Regions from separate parts of the Homo sapiens genome. Here region 1 is linked to region 2. Evidence: promoter capture Hi-C in 16 types of primary human blood cells and fetal thymus (Javierre and others, 2016). All regions are on one chromosome and are shown on one strand. The core of a region is centred on a gene start or on the middle of the fragment in contact, and the rest is flanking DNA. Distances in the headings are between cores, read along the strand shown.

Region 1 (4,660 bases), core at 1,518-4,017, 2.6 Mb before region 2:
CATAACTTTTACATGCACTGGGAAACCAAAAAATTGGTGTGACTTGCTTTATTGGGATATTTGCTTTATTGTGGTAATCTGGAACAAAACCCACGGTATCTCTAGGTTATGCCAGTAATTTAAAGGTAGGACAAGCAACATGTTCTGATGGCTTGGATATGATGCAAGAAGGACAGAAGTGGATTGAAGTGAAGAATGACTCCAGGGTTTTTGGCCTGAGCAACCAGAACAATGGAGCGCCACAGGGATTGGGCCTAGTGAGGCAGGGAGTTTAATTTTTGACGTGTTTAATTTGAGGTATCTATGAGACACTCAGTCAAATGGGCAAGTCGTTCAGGCAATGTAAAAGCAGAAAAAGAAGGCAGTAGCTAAAGGAGGGAGAATATAAGGTCAAAAGGTTTTGGCTTTACTTTTCAAAGGTGAGAACTAGTAAAGCAAGTTTTTGTGCACATGGAAGTGTTTCCTGGAGAGGAAAGAGGTCATGATGAAGGACAGAGAGAGAAAACTGTTGGAGCCCATGTCTTGAGTAGGTTAGAGGTAGGATCTGCTCCGCCAGTGGAGAGGCTGGCCTTAGACAGGAGTATGGGCAGATGGGCCATCCATTGTATCGAGAGGGAAGGCAAGGTGTGCAGGGACAGATGCAGGGAGACTGTGGAAGTTTTCCTGTGGTTGCTTCTTTTTTCTCAGTGAAATAAGCATGTAGCTCAGCAGCTGAGAGTGCTACATGCTAGCAGATGCATGTAGGAGAGATGTGACAAGAGGTTTTCAGATTGAGCAGAATGTTTGAAATGGTCTAGGACAGTGGTTTTTCAGTTCATAATCTGATAGAGGGTGTTAAAACCAACTTTGTAATTTGAGATCAAACGTGATTTTAAAATGAAAATAGAATTATAAAAAGGAGTTTGTTGCATTATTAAAAGAATTGCTTAATAGCAGCTTTATTTCAGTTGCATGAGTGTGTACTTGCACATATATTGGGTTGTAGCAAAAATACTTTTAAAAATACTTGCCCAGGACAGTGGGAGTAAATGAATAAGGGACTGTCAAATACAAAGTCAAGGTCCTAGTTAATGATCATGAGTCAAAATATTTTCATGTAAAAAACCAAAAAAATCATTGAATGGACTCATAAGATCTTGGCATGGAAACTGCTAGAGGACCATAGTCCCTCCTCAGTATTTGCTGCTCCTTCTCCCTACCCCACTCCACTCTCCACCCTAGGAAACCTTTTCATTTGAATATTTTCAATAAGGGCAAGATCACCAGCTTACAAGATGTCAGAAAGTAACTTTCTGCTCTAAAAAAATGGGGCCCTCACAAAAGTAGTGAGTAGAGGCCCTGGCAGGATTTGGAATTTGGTGTATTTAATATGAAGTTTGACATTATTATGTAATAACAAACTTGATGGCTTTTCCCCGTTTCAGAGAGCTCTAAATCCTCTAAGACAAAACTAGTACCAGAGCACTAAGAAATCTTGTTTTTGTTCAAAACTCTAGCCCAGAAAGGCACCAGTTAGCTTTTAAAAGTATGTGCTCTCTCCTCTTTACTAACTGCGGTGTTAGTGGATAATTGAGCTAAGGTTTATACCTGTATTTTCCCCCTATTTCAAGATTTGTTGTTGGATCTGCAAATGATTCCAATCAAATACAACTGTACTTGGAAAAAAATCATCCGTTGTTAAGACTTTACATTCCTTAGTTGCAGAAGTAGTTTTTTTTCCTGCACAATACCTTTTAAAAAATGAATATTTAATATGTCAATATATACTCTGAAAATAACCATTTATATTTTAAATTCTGAGCTCAGGTTATTTTCTAGACATTGTAATTTAGAATAAAAATACTTCTCCAGTTCTACATTTTGCCTGACTGTTAAAAATGATTTTGAGATTAATAAGTTGAACCAATTTTCTATTCACCTGACCAAATTCTGAACCATTTGAGTTTTTTAAAAAGTACTTTTTCCTTATTGTAAAGGCAACATAAAACTTGGTTCATTGGACAGGATAGCAGAGATAAACATTATACATGAAGTATAGTTCCCTGGGGCAATGTTGCTCTCTTTCTACCATGTTTATTTCGATTTATATAAATTTGAGACACTGAACAGAAGTAGAATTCAAATAGAGAATGAGGACTTATAAAAATGTACACTCTGCCTACATCAGTAAGAGTATGCTAATTTATAAAATTAAATATTTAATCTTAGTTCACTTGTAAACCAAAATCAAGTAAAGTCTGAATCCACCTTCTATTGCTTTGGGGGTTTGAGTCTATATTCTAGGATTCATTTAATAGTTTCATTTCTCTAAGCATCAAGCAAAACAGTTAAAATTACAAAACAGAAACATAAAGTTCACCTCATCATGTAGTATGGATCACTCTGTTATTCTTTATCTAGACCTTCAAATACTTTATGTAAAATGTTTCTATACAAAAGGAAACACAGGATTAGTTCCTCCTCTAATGCTTCTAAAGAGCTCTACCATGGAAAGCTCTCTCCCTTCCATTTTGCAAGTCTCAACAAGTCTGCTGCTGAGTCAGAACCTCCTTTTTTCCCTGATGTAAGAACTATTTCTCCCTTGAAAATTCATAAAGCTTAGGAATAAATTAGAGTCTCCCTGGGGGGAAGGGGCGGGGACGCCGGAATGAATGTGGTGGGGAGGAGTCCCACGCTGCAGCCCTGATGGCACACGAAAGGCTTTTATGAAGCGGAGCTGGCCCGGGGTTACTATGGGAGCTCGCCGTGGAACCCGTTCCACGCATCCGAGTGTGTAAATAACCACGCGGAGCGTGTTTGTTCCAGGGACTTTGTTCCTTCTTACCCAAGTGAAAATGCCTGGAATATAGCCGAGGCTTCATGTTTACCCTACAGAAACACCCTCGGCGGCTCTACGACGTCGGTGACAGCACTCCTACCAGCGCCTAAAAACAGAAACAAGCTTAGAGGGCGCTACCTAGGGCTACAAGGAGGCCCTAGATCGGGGACTCGGGGTCTAGAGGTGCGCGGCGAGGCGCTCAGCGGACTTCAAGCCGGCAGAGCCCAGACGCTAGTTCACCACAGGACCCCCGGGCTGGGCCGGGCTCCCGCGTTGCGCTGGGGGCCCCTCGGGCGCCTATTTCTACGCGGGTCGCACAGTGCAGGCGCCGGTCGGGGTCCCGGGCCTCAGTTTCCCCCGCGGGCCAGCCCCGCTCTGGGAAGCCCGAGTGGTGCAGCAGGGCTTCTCCCCACCCAGGGCGGAACCGAGGTGACAGGAAGGAGGAGGCACCGCGAGGGGCGGAGACGCGTGCGACCCAGGCAGACTCTGCGCGGATCCCGCGCCAAGGAGGGGCCGTTGCCCAGGAACCGTCCCTCCCTCCCGCGCGTGCTTGCCCTCGTGCGCGCGCCCGCCCAATGCTCCCGACCACTGTTTGCCAGCCGACCCCCACCCCAACCGGCCTGTCCATTTCCCCGGGAGCGGAGAGACCCAACGGGACACGCCGCTCGCTCCCGCCCTCCCGGGAGCGCGAGCGCGCCCTCGGCTGCGTCTGCATAGTAATGAGGGGCGGGGAGGGGCGACGGGGACGCGGTGGCCTCGCGCCCGCGCGTGCCGGGACGCACCGCGGGGGGCGGCGCGATTGTGAGGTGGCGCTGACGCACGTTCCGGGGTTCTTAAGCGGCCAGGGCGGCTACGGCGACTGCGACGGCGGCGGCGGCGGCGATCGCCGCGAGGGGTGGTGGGGCCGAAGTCGGTGCCCCCTGGCTCAGTCACGGTGTCCCTCTCTCACTGACTCCCCCTCCTTCCACCACGGCCGCGCAACCCCAGCGCCGGCGGCTTCCTAGGTGGGGCAGGGGACGAGGAGCGTCTCCTCCCGCTGCCGGCGGCCTGATAAATGAGGGATTTCGGGTTTGGGGTGCTGCAGACCGCCCCGCTCCGAAGTAGCAGTCCTGGGCCCCTGTTCTGCGGCGAGGCGTATGGTCCTTACGCCGTGGGGTCCGTCAACCCGCTGCCCTCCGCCACGCCCTTCGGCCCACTGTCGCCACCACCGTTGCCTGTCACCGGCTTCTTAGAGGCCGCCTCCCCCTTCTCCGTCCCCCTCGGCGGCGGCGCGGGCAGCCCGGCCGCCGCCGCTTCCTCTTCCTCCCCGTTCCTGGCGCATCAGCAGACCATGCAGGATGAGCTGCTTCTGGGGCTGACACAGCAGCCGGCGCGGCCGCTTTCGGGGGCGGCGGCCACGGAGAAACTCCCCGACCACCACCCCGGCGGCGGCACGATCGCGGGTGTGACCCACCTCCTCCCCTCCCAGGACTTCAAACCGAGTCTGCACCACCCCTCCTCCTCCTCCGCCTCCTCCTGCTGCTGCTGCCGCACCTCCTCCCCGCAGGACTTCAGTAAGCGGCAGCAGCAGCAGCTGAGCAGCCAGAAGAGGAAAGAGTTCAGCCCTCCCCACCTTCCCCACCCTCCGGACTCGAAGCCGCCGCCGCCGCCTCCGCCGCTCCACTGCCCCGGTCGGTTCAGCCCGCCGCCGCCGCCAGCCGGCCCGCTCCTCCAGCCGGCGCAGCTCGCTCAGCGCCAGCAGCAACAGCCGCCGCAGCAGTTCAGCCTCCTGCATCAGCAGCACCTCTCGCCGCAGGACTTCGCCCCGCGGCAGCGTCCGGCAGACCTGCCCCCGCTCCCGCA
Region 2 (4,636 bases), core at 1,462-3,961:
TTTTAAAATTCTGTTTTTGTTTTTTTTGAGACGGAGTCTTGCTCTCAACCAGGCTGCAGTGTAGTGGCATGATCTCGGCTCACTGCAAGCTCTGCCTCCTGGGTTCACCCCATTCTCCGGCCTCAGCCTCCCAAGTAACTGGGACTACAGGCGCCCGCCACAACGCCTGGCTAATTTTTTGTATTTTTAGTAGAGATGGGGTTTCACCATGTTAGCCAGGATGGTCTTGATCTCCTGACCTTGTGATCCGGCTGCCTCGGCCTCCCAAAGTGCTGGGATTACAGGCATGAGCCACTGCCTCCAGCCTAAAATTCTCAGTTTTAACTTATCAGATAAATATTAGCAGACTTAACCCACATAAACAAAAACTTTGGGATCCTCAATAATTTTTAGGAGTGTAAAGGGGTCTTGAGACCAAAACTGTCTGAAAACTGCTGGAGTAGGCTTGTTTCCTCCTGGCGGTCTCTTCTGGTTCTTTCAGTCATCACATATTTATTATATCTATTATGCCAGGCACCATTCTAGATTCTGGGGATACAGGTGAATAAGATGGGCAGGCTCTGATGCACGGAACTTATTTTCTAGTTGGCATGTGTATGACAGAGAGAGAAGGAGGAGGAGGGCAGGTGATTCAGTTATGAAAAAATGAACAAGATAATTTCAGATTACATAAATGTTGTGAAGAAAATTAAACAGGGGAAAGTACTTAGGAGTGGGGATCTAAGTGAAACTGAGGCTGGGAAGATGACTTGATCCGAGCCTGGTTGGCAAAGGGAAGCTCCTGCTTTTTCTCTGAACATTTCTGCCCTGGCTCACTCCTCTGGCAATGAGCTTCCTGTGGTTCCTTAAACATCCCAGGCAGGCTGCTTCTTCAGGGATCCTTCGGTGTAGAAAGCACTCCTAGTTAAATTTTCATGCCAGTCACTACAGTCCAGATCTCCTTGGAGAGGCCTCCTCCAATCACCTATCTCAAAGAACACCCCTCTCACTAGCCATCCCCTTACTGGGTTTCATTTTCCTTCCCAGCTCTTCTCTCTGCACAATATTGCTATGTATTTATGTGCTTGTCTGTCTCCTTCCAGAGATTTGGGATGATTGCTATAACCTCCAGATCATTAAATAGTGCCTGGGAAGTGGAGCGCTCAGTAAGTGTGCTGGGTAATAACTGTAAAATCAGATATAATGAAAAAAAGTTATTTGGTTTTAAAGAGATAAATAAGAAGGTTGGGCACGGTGGCTCACGCCTGTAATCCTAGCACTTTGGAAGACCGAGGCGGGCGGATTGTCTGAGCTCAGGAGTTCGAGACCAGCCTGGGCAACAAGGTGAAACCCCGGCGCTACTAAAATACAGAAAAACTAGCCGAGCGGCGGGCGCCTGTAGTCCCAGCTACTCGGAAGGCTGAGGCAGGAGAATTGCTTGAACCCAGGAGGCGGAGGTTTCAGTGAGCCGAGATCGCGCCACTGCATTCCAGCCTGGGCGACAGAGCGAGACTCCGTCACCAAAAAAAAAGAGAGAGATAAGCAAATGTTAAAAGCAGGTTACTACAAGATTAGCAGCCTAGTGCCGGGCGCGGTGGCTCACGCCTGTAATCTCAGCACTTTGGGAGGCCGAGTCGGGCGGATCACGAGGTTAGGAGATCGAGACCATCCTGGCTAACACGGTGAAACCCCATCTCTACCAAATATACAAAAAATTAGCTGGGCGTGGTGGCGGGCGCCTGTAGTCCCAGCTACTCGGGATGCTGAGGCAGGAGAATGGCGTGAACCCGGGAGGCGGAGCTTGCAGTGAGCCAAGATCGCGCCACTGCACTCCAGCCTGGGCGACAAAGCGAGACTCTGTCTCAAAAAAAAAAAATTAGCAGCCTGGCGCCTTGGCTCATTACTGTATTCCCAACACTTTGGGAGGCCGCGGCGGTAGAATCACTTGAGCTCAGTAAAACACCTGACTCAACTAAAAAAAAAAAAAAAAAAAAAAAAAAAAGCCCGTCGCGACTGCACGCACCTGTGGTCCTAGCTACTTGGGTGGCTGAAGTAGGGGGATTGTTTGAGCCCGGGAGGTCGAGCCCTGATCATGACACTGCACTCCGGCCAGGGCGACAGAACGAGACCCTGAGAAAAAAGAAAAGAAAGAAAAAAAAAGATTAGCATAGTGACTTTCTCTTTGATGTAACCATAAATATTTAAAGACATCAGTGCCGGGCACATTGGGAACCTCAACAAAGTTGTTTCCGTTATCCATCTCCGACCAGAATTCAGGAAGAACTTTGCCTGTCTTGTTCCCGCTATAACCAATGACTCAACAAATGTTTGTGGAGTGAGTGGGTGACCCTCTCCTTTTACCAACGGTAAACAGCCCGCGGAAAGAAAAAGTGACTTAGCCAAAGTCTCTCCAGGCATTTGGGGCAGAGTCGGGACTAGCATAGTAGTATCCTGACTCTCGCAGGAGGGCTCGCTCCACTGTAGTTATTAATTCTCCTCTCCACACAACCAGGTCTAATCCGGCCAAAGTCTTCAATTCTTAAGCTAAGAAAAAAGGAAAATACATGTAAACTCTGTTTTGCGATAGACAAGAAAACAGAAGAATTAAAAATCCTCCTTCCGGGGTGCACCAGAATCCTCCCATCGCTCGGTCCTGTCACGTGACCACGCCTACTACACCAGCCACGTGAGCTTCTGAGCCGGCTTCCGCGCAGGCGCAGTGGATCTCTCTTGCGCCATTCCAAACATGGCGGCTCCACTAGGGGGTATGTTTTCTGGGCAGCCACCCGGTCCCCCTCAGGCCCCGCCGGGCCTTCCGGGCCAAGCTTCGCTTCTTCAGGCAGCTCCAGGCGCTCCTAGACCTTCCAGCAGTACTTTGGTGGACGAGTTGGAGTCATCTTTCGAGGTAATATAAGACATGGGCGTCTTTGTCCCTAGCCTTCCCTTTTTTCTGAAACGTGAACTGCGCGTACGCGTATCTCCTCCAGGGATCCGAGCAACTAATTCACAAATGGGGAAACTGAGGCTTAAAGTAAGTCACTTGCTTTAGGCTTCCCCGTGGCCCGTATTCAATTCAGGTCTGCTGGCGGGGGCGCGTAAACTCGACGTTTGTGGAAACGTGAACCCGAAGTTTGCCTAAACCCCAAACTTGGAACCCTTCCAGATTCCCAGCCGGTCCTTAGTCTCATCCCCGAGCACCGTTTCTTGCATCCCTGCATGTTTAGTAAGAGGCTCAAGCCTTTTCGGAGCTGAGAGTTTCACTGCTGTATCCTGTATCCTTTCCGCTGGGCTTCACCTTTAAACGATCCTAAAGGGACTCTTAAGAGCGGAAATTGACTTAAGTTACCAGGCGCAGCTTGGTACTAAGAGCTGAGGAAGGAGGAATGCTGGAGGTTAGGGAGGGAGGGAGGCACAGGTGACCCAATCTCTCAGTTTTGCCCAAGGAGTTTACCTTGTAGCAAGAAAGGTGAACTGTATATTGAGGGAAGATAGAGAGGTGAAAATAAGTGCTCTGGTGATTTCCAGTAGTCTTTAAAGTGGAAGATGAGCTATTCCTGTGTAGTAATAAAGTAATGTACGTTCAAATTGGAGTTAACTTTTCCACATTTTAAATCCCAGTTTTGCCGGGCGCGGTGGCTCACGCCTGTAATCCCAGCACTTTGGGAGGCCGAGGCTGGCGGATCATGAGGTCAGGAGTTCGAGACCAGCCTGACCAACATGGTGAAACCCTGACTCTACTAAAAATACAAAAATTAGCCAGGCGTGGTGGCGTGCGCCTGTAATCCCAGGTACTCGAGAGGCTGAGGCAGGAGAATCGCTTGAACCTGGGATGCGGAGGTTGCAGTGAGCGGAGACCGCGCCATTGCACTCCAGCGTGGGTGACAAGAGCTCGACTCCGTCTCAAAAAAGTAAAATAAAATATAAATAAATAAAAATCCCAACTTTGTGACTTTTGTATTGTATCTAATAGCACAGTGGTAAATGAATATAATTTGCAAGCGATTATTCAGACTGCATGGACAAAATGCTTTTACCACACGGATGTACAAAGATTTAGAAATAAATGATTTGAGATGGAGTCTCACTCTCTCGCCCAGGCTGGAGTACAGTGGCGCAATTTCGGCTTACTGCAACCTCCGCCTCCCGGGTTCAAGCGATTTTCCTGCCTCAGCCTCCCGAGTTGCTGGGATTACAGGCACCTGCCACCATGCTATTTTTTTTATTTTTTAGTAGAGACAGGGCTTCACTATCTTGGCCAGGCTGGTCTCGAACTCCTGACCTCGTGATCCACCCGCCTCGGCCTCCCAAAGTGCTGGGATTACAGGCGTGAGCCACTGCGCCTAGCCAGAAATAAATGATTTAAAGGACAGACCGTTTAGGAGGAGGAGGAGGAGACACCTTTGAGGTGGTGCTAAGTGGTAAAGGAAGGGGCTGGTGAACTTTAGAGCAGCATCTAGCATTGTGCTTGAGGGGAGCTGGCTCTCAGTCATGGGCACTTGCTGAAAGACTGGCCCTGTACAAGTCTTAGCCAAAGTTGACTCCCAGCACCCTGCTGCTTAAAAACGTACAGTGGCTGCTTGTTGCCCTTGAGATAAGATCAAGATGTTTAGTGTGGTCTCCCAGGCTTTGCATGTTGCGTTCTCTCCTTCAGACTCGT

What was found. Contacts are between HindIII fragments. The CHiCAGO score rates a contact against its expected background, and 5 or more counts as called.
Region 1: a contact is called between a fragment that was not itself captured here and the fragment with the promoter of MED28 in region 2, in 3 of 17 cell types (naive B cells, total CD8 T cells and fetal thymus). The highest score is 7.9, in naive B cells.

What each region holds. Positions count from the first base shown.
Region 1 is chr4:14,998,802-15,003,461 of GRCh38, forward strand. CPEB2 (cytoplasmic polyadenylation element binding protein 2) reads left to right here and starts at 3,680. Exons shown (of 12, transcript NM_001177382.2): 1 at 3,680-4,660. The coding sequence starts at 3,873. It overlaps CPEB2-DT (CPEB2 divergent transcript), which reads right to left and starts at 3,244. Exons shown (of 8, transcript NR_038857.1): 1 at 3,137-3,244; 2 at 2,825-2,924; 3 at 2,360-2,428. RefSeq lists an enhancer at 2,669-2,718 and silencers at 2,959-3,818, 4,319-4,628. The HindIII fragment of the contact is 344 bases long and covers 2,596-2,939 here.
Region 2 is chr4:17,611,930-17,616,565 of GRCh38, forward strand. MED28 (mediator complex subunit 28) reads left to right here and starts at 2,712. Exons shown (of 4, transcript NM_025205.5): 1 at 2,712-2,884. The coding sequence starts at 2,726. It overlaps MED28-DT (MED28 divergent transcript), which reads right to left and starts at 2,651. Exons shown (of 3, transcript NR_186331.1): 1 at 2,213-2,651; 2 at 2,003-2,109. RefSeq lists enhancers at 2,057-3,256, 2,362-2,651, 2,752-2,861. The HindIII fragment of the contact is 7,436 bases long and covers 1-2,802 here.